Regions from separate parts of the Homo sapiens genome. Here region 2 is linked to region 1. Evidence: promoter capture Hi-C in 16 types of primary human blood cells and fetal thymus (Javierre and others, 2016). All regions are on one chromosome and are shown on one strand. The core of a region is centred on a gene start or on the middle of the fragment in contact, and the rest is flanking DNA. Distances in the headings are between cores, read along the strand shown.

Region 1 (3,244 bases), core at 340-2,839:
TATACTGAGAGACATCAACGTTTGGGAATGTTTAATGCTCATGGATAGGTGAAGCGTGTTATTTCTTTGAACTGGAAAAAGAAACAGTTTCCTCCCACAAATCAAAGCCCCAACTATATCACATTGATTTAATTCAACCCTAAAAACTCTATAATTAGTGGTTACAGAAAATGGCTAATTACCTCTCCCTGTATTCAGACAATTTCTGCCATCTCACTTGCAGAGCCTGGGAGCTGTGTACTCAACCCACCCACTGACGGGAGAATGCTAATTAGCATTGTTGACTGGTGATACAAGTTATAATATTTTTCAGCAGCCCCGTAAAATTTATAAACATGTCAGTGAAAATGCCAGATTCTTTTACAGTTTGTTAGCTTTTGGACTAAGTGTCTAAGAATACATTCATTTCTAACCAAAGCCAGGTCAAGAGTTTTAACAAAATGCATGGGCCATCTACACAATCATCATCATAAGGCGCTCTAACACTTCCTAAGGAGAATCTAAGAGAGCTCACAACACCTTCGCAGCGTGGGCATTAGACCTGGTTTGGAGAAGTGAAAACTGAGCAACAGATTCCTCAGCTCCAAGTCTCATCTGCTCATCACACAGCAGCCAGGCCGCGGCTCCGCCCCACTGCTGCCGCCACCACGGACGCGTTTAAATTTTTATAAAGCTTCACACTTCTCTAGGCGCGATGCTTGGGGCAGTTCAAAGACTGCAGAAGGAAATGAGGTCCTGCCGGTGGCGAAGGCTGCCCCGGCGCGGTGAGATTTCCTCCAGCAGGGACACCTTGGGCAGAGACCCGCCAGGCGCCTCTGCTCCACCCCGGCGTTTTTGAAAGTAAACTCCTACCTGCCTGTTGCGCTCTCCGAGGCGCAACCGGACTCGCCCCCCAGGCCTCCAGGGCCGGCTCAATTTTTTGTGAGCGAGGTGTGCACACAGACCAGCTCTGTCCCGGTTCCTGGCGAAGGGCCAGGCGGCGCCCGGGTCGAGCCCCGCCAGGGGTGGGAACCCCGGTGCGCGCCCGGCTCCCGCCCTGCACGGCTGCTGCAGCCGCCCGGTGCCTCCAACGCTCGGCCACTCCCTGCCGGCCTGCCCGCCGCCCCGGCACGCGCACCGAAGGGGCGCACTCCAAAGGCCAGCCCGGGGAGAAAGGGACGTCCGAGGTGTGAGCAGGGAACCCCGGGACCCCAAGGAGTGGGGTGCGGCGGAGATCGCACGGCAGGGCCAGGAGGGGCGCAACGCATGGGGAGAAGAGTGGAGTCAGAGGAAGCACTACCCGGAGCGCTCCGGAGGAGGGGAGGGAGCCCCCGGCCCGAGGCGGGAGCCGGCCACCCGGGGTCGAAGTCCGGCGGGGCGAATGCGGGAGGAGGGCGCAGGGGCACGCGGGGTCCGAGGTGGGGGCGTCTCCCAGCCAACGGTCTGCCCCGGGGACCGCCGCCGCGCAGCGCTCGGCCTCTCGCGGGACTCACCTCCGCGCCGGCCGCCCGAGCTCCGCGGCCCGCGGTCTCGGCTCACAGCGGCCCCGGCTCTGCGGCCTGCGCTGGGCTCCTGGAGAGGCAGAGCCCCGCCGCCGCCGCCGCTGCACTGCTGCTTTCCGCTTCCTGTCCCGGCGCCGCCCCGCAGCCCGAGCCCAGCCCTGCGAGCCCGGCGCGGCCGCGAGCCAAGAACAGCTAGCGCTGCCGGCCCCGCCGCGGGGCCGGCCCACCTGCAGCGGAGGGCGGGGCTCGGCCGGCGTCCCCCTCACCTCGTCACCGCCCCGACCCCACACACCCGGGACACACACGAAGGCGTGCGCGGTCACACTCTTACACACGGACCAGGGAATGACACCTCCCACACTCATTCACCCTCATACACACACTCACCCTACACAGACGTGCACAGCCCAGTAACCCACTCTCTTCTGGGCAGACACACACACTATAAACACATGGCCCAGGGATTGATCTCCGACACCGCCCCCTCCCTCCCCCACATACTTGGAATCTCAAGCTCACACACACACACACACACACACAATCATGCACAAAATCCGAGCCCATTTGCCCTCACGAGTGCCCCCATCCACATATTCACACGGCTCAGGGACTAACCCCCCAACCCCACTCAACACACACTCATATACACACTTTCCAAGAACTGACCGACAAATATCCATATACACCATATCTCAACCCATATACACACACTTAAACTCACATGTAGCCCTGGAAATGACCCCACAAATAGACACACACACACACACACACACACACACACACACACCCCCTACAAGCCACCACAGCAAGCCTCTCCCCTCCTCCTCCCTTATCAGAGCAGGCACTGCCGCCAGCCTAGTCTCCTAGAAACTGCTAGATGAGCACATCTCTGCAGGCAGGTAGCTGAAGCTTCAGTGCTGATTCCAACCAGGTACTGTTTCCTTTCTGAGCCTTTGTTTACCTGTCTGAAAAGTGGTGAGGATGCTGCTGTCCACCTTGCAGGATTGTGGTGAGGATTACAAAACAGTTGGCAACGATTTTCATGAATATTTGCACTTTTCTTAGTTGTCTTGTGTTGGTAGCATTAGGGTTCCTTACTGATCATCTCCAATCTAGCTGGGACCCAAAGCTGCTTACGTGGCAGGATTTTCCAGTGGAAGCAGTGTATAATGAAGTGCTGAATTTCCTAAGAGTTGTCTACAGGAGTATTGCGGGCATTTGGGGTGGGGAAATGCAGGCCCACCCTGACTAGCCTTAATCAGGGAACCTTGGCTCCAAGAACCCCTCACTCCCTTGATCACCTCTTCCTCATCCCTTCTAGACTCCATTTTCTCTCGCATATGTCACATTTCCTTGAGAAGACACCCATATGTTCAATGTGGCTGATTTTCACCACTCCTAGTCCCCAGGCTCTGCTGCCCCACTCAGTGGCCTAGACCATCTTCCTCCCCCACCCCCAGCCTCCCAGTAGGCTCCAGAGAGCAGATGTTGCTGACTCAGGCAGCCAGGTTCCTATGGGTAAAGCCAATGGTCTATTCACCCAAATCAGCACTCAGGGTCAGAAATGTAGAACATTATAAAAACATGTCTCTCTCATCTCTAAAATGTAGAACTTTCAAAGTTCAAACAGGCCAGGGATTTCCAATTCTAGTCATGTACCTGAATAGCTCCAATTAACACAGAGATCTTCAATGAGTTTTCAGAAAGTAATTCTAATTCACTTAGGTTCTTATGTCTAGCCACCTTACCAGATGATGTTTTGT
Region 2 (3,244 bases), core at 472-2,971, 500 kb after region 1:
TGTTTCTACTGAGAACACCAGCATCGGCCACTTCATGATTTTTAAAATAAGAAAATCATGGACTCAGTTAGAGCCCCAAGGACCTCACAATAGACCCATATGAAGGGATTTGAGGTGAGACTTTTAATTGATACATTCATTAATTTAGTCATTCAACAAACATTTTGTGGACATCTAGTATGTGCCAGGTACCATGCTAGGCACTGGAGCTACAACCAGGAAGCAGATAGAAATGATGCCTTTCTTCAAGGAGCCTGCAGACTCATGGAGCAGGAAGCTAATAAACCTGCCATATTGGGTGCTTTACAAACACGGAGGATACATGATTTGTTTTGCCCAGAGGAGTCACTGAGCTAAGGGACTGCTTCAGATGAGCGGTGACATTTGCCCTGGACCTTAAAGAGGAAGTAGGAGTTCTTCAGGAAGAGTAGAATCAGGAGATTTTTAAAGTGAGGCATAGAGATGTCCCCAGGCATACTATGTGCTGGGGACCTAATGGGGAAGAAAGACAGTTGTGCCCAGATTGCCAAAGCCTTATCAGCCATTCTCCAGAGCTAGAACATTGTCCTATGGGTATCAGAGAATTTCAGAAAACAGAATGACATCATAAAGAAAGCACTGGATCAAGAGCCAACAATCCATGGGATCTGCCAATCCCTAGCTATGTAGCCTTGGGCAAGGAACTGTCCCTCTTGGGGCCTCAATTTCCAACTCTGTCAAATGAGATAATTGAGCTAAATGACTTTTTTTATTATTCCACAAGAATAAAGTGAAACAATTTGGGGATAGAAGCTTGGTTTAGAAACAGATTGTGAAGCTCTCTGCTTGGGAAGTTTCCCCATGCCCCTGAGCCCTTATCTGGACCATGCACAACCATAAATGTGCGTTTACATGTGTACACACTCATTCACACCCCTCCAATCCATCCTCTATTTGCTCGCCACAAAGGGGTAGGATTAAAATGCTTCAGGAATCCAAAACCTCTGTAGGATAAAGCTGACACTCCTTAGCATGGAAGACAAAGCCCTTCACAGCTCTGCAGTCTCATGTCATACAACTTCATAACTAGACCTTCAGGATCCAGCCAGACCACCCCTCCCTGGCCTCAACTCCCCTAATACATTATTTGGCCTCACATATCTGCTCCTAAGCCCATGGTGCTTTGTCTGCCTGGAATGCCTTTTCCATAGCCTTGCTCTTGGTAAGCCTCATTGGTAGACCACATTTACTCTTTCAAACTTGCTCAAGAACAGCCTCTGCAGCAAAGCTGTCCTCCCCTCCCATGTCCCCCTCCTTATGCATATTTCTATCTATGCTGGGACACTGGATTGTAATCACTGGTTTCCATGGCTCTCTCTTCCACAGATGATGAATGCCTCAAGAATAAGAGCTATGTCTCAGTGACACTTGTATCCCCAGCTCCTAGGGCTGGAGACATAGAATGCCTAGACTTCTATGTAGCTGGCCATGGAATGTCCCCAGCAGATGTAAAACTAACCACTTGCATTTTTATTTAACTGTTCTGATTGTGTGCCCCAAACTACAGGATGATCTCTCAATGTTTTGGTGGGAACTGGAAACTTCTAGAGCTAAATTAGCTGCCAGAAAAGAACTGTTCACCGTAGGCTGGAGACCCATTGTCTCCTTCTGTGTTCCCAGCTTTTCATAAATGCCACTTCAGACTGTGGGATAGGCAGGTAGGAAGGTGGGCCACTCAAACTTGTCCAGCAATGTCTTGTTTTCATGAAGTCATAGAACCTCAGAATTGAAAGGGATCCTAGAAGCCATCACAGCCTTCCACCCAGGGCAGAACACCCCTACATTCCTTACAGGTGCTCATCCAAACTCAGTAGGTCTCAACTCATCCTGGTGAGGAAGCCTGGCCTGCTCTTGACTGGTTATTAGAAAAATGCTTCCTCATTTAACCGAGGTAATCCCAGCATTCCATGTATTCCTGTCTCAATAAAATCTCATTCAAATAAGAGTCTAACAACCTAGAGTAGGTGAAAATGCAATTCAAAACATGCTGGGAGTTCTCAAAAATTACTAAAAAACAATCATCCTCTTACAATCCTTTTTCCTCATATTTCTCTTTGGATCTCCTACTCGGTGTAGAGGCTCCCAAAACTCTCCCTCTTCTGACTATTCCCAACCAAGCCCGCAAGCAGGCTGCAGCCTTTCTCCACGAGGCCCCCACCCCCATCCTGCACAACTAATGATGGTGGATACTCTCAGCCTCTCTTGCTTTTTAATTTTCTGTTGTTTCCTGTCTTACCCCACTCCCCAGATTCTGCTCTACAAAAGGGATCCCAGGAGCTTCTTGAATATTGACAACACTTATTTTTTTAATTCTTTATAACATGTTGATGGAAATAGAAGCATCTGCATGTCAGGAAGCTGTCATACTTCTCTAACGTCTTTTCTTCTCCAGTCTACACCATCCCCATTTCTTCAACTGACCCTCCAATGGCACAGCTCCCAGAGCCCCAGCACTCCGATGTGCCATTCCTTTTGATATCACCCTTGAGTAATTCCCACAGTATTTAAAAAGAGATGCACAATTATTGTGGATAATAGTAATTATCCACAATAATTCAAGTGTGGTTTCACAACACATAAGACTGTGGAACTCCATGAAAAAGAAGCTTTATGAATGAAGCTGAATAATGCATTACTTTTACCACATTTTCTTAAAAAATAAAAATAAAAAGTACAACTCTGTTCAAAACTGGACACTAACTTCCCGAGGGCCCACCACACTCCCATAGGTAGGCATGTTGTGAGTGGAACGCCGATGGACGCGGGCCCTTGGCACGACAGGCGGGGCCGAGCACTCCTAGGAAGGCCACTGTGTGGGGTGGCTTGAGGGGCTCTAGGGAAACCCCATCCTTCCCATCAAAAATATCCCCACCACCAGGACACATCACTGTCCCATGTCACTCAAAGGCATTAAAAGCAATTGGTAAGTCGCAACTAACCCAACAGGAGGAAGACACCCTCAGGAATGGGCATTAATTAGGGTCTTAGCTGAAGTTATTTCAGATATTATTGGCTACCGCTAAAGGAAGTAGGGAAAGTTCTGAATGTGCCATAGGTGAAGGTTGTGTACCTCCAGGGGGAGCATGAGGTGAGGTGAGGTGAGGGGAAGGCAATGAGAGAAACAAAGGGTCCATGTGAAGAGAATGATGGCGCCTGGTAAGGAGACTGGCCTGAGCCGTAAGTGCGTCTGTGCTGCTTGGCTCAA

The links. Contacts are between HindIII fragments. The CHiCAGO score rates a contact against its expected background, and 5 or more counts as called.
Region 2: a contact is called between a fragment that was not itself captured here and the fragment with the promoter of VANGL1 in region 1, in 1 of 17 cell types (fetal thymus). The highest score is 5.2, in fetal thymus.

Annotation. Positions count from the first base shown.
Region 1 is chr1:115,640,315-115,643,558 of GRCh38, reverse strand. It overlaps VANGL1 (VANGL planar cell polarity protein 1), which reads right to left and starts at 1,589. Exons shown (of 8, transcript NM_138959.3): 1 at 1,473-1,589. RefSeq lists an enhancer at 974-1,732 and a silencer at 868-1,857. The HindIII fragment of the contact is 1,717 bases long and covers 676-2,392 here.
Region 2 is chr1:115,139,172-115,142,415 of GRCh38, reverse strand. No RefSeq gene overlaps it. Among named protein-coding and RNA genes, the nearest start is that of LINC01765, 41 kb to the right of the region's middle. The HindIII fragment of the contact is 1,853 bases long and covers 795-2,647 here.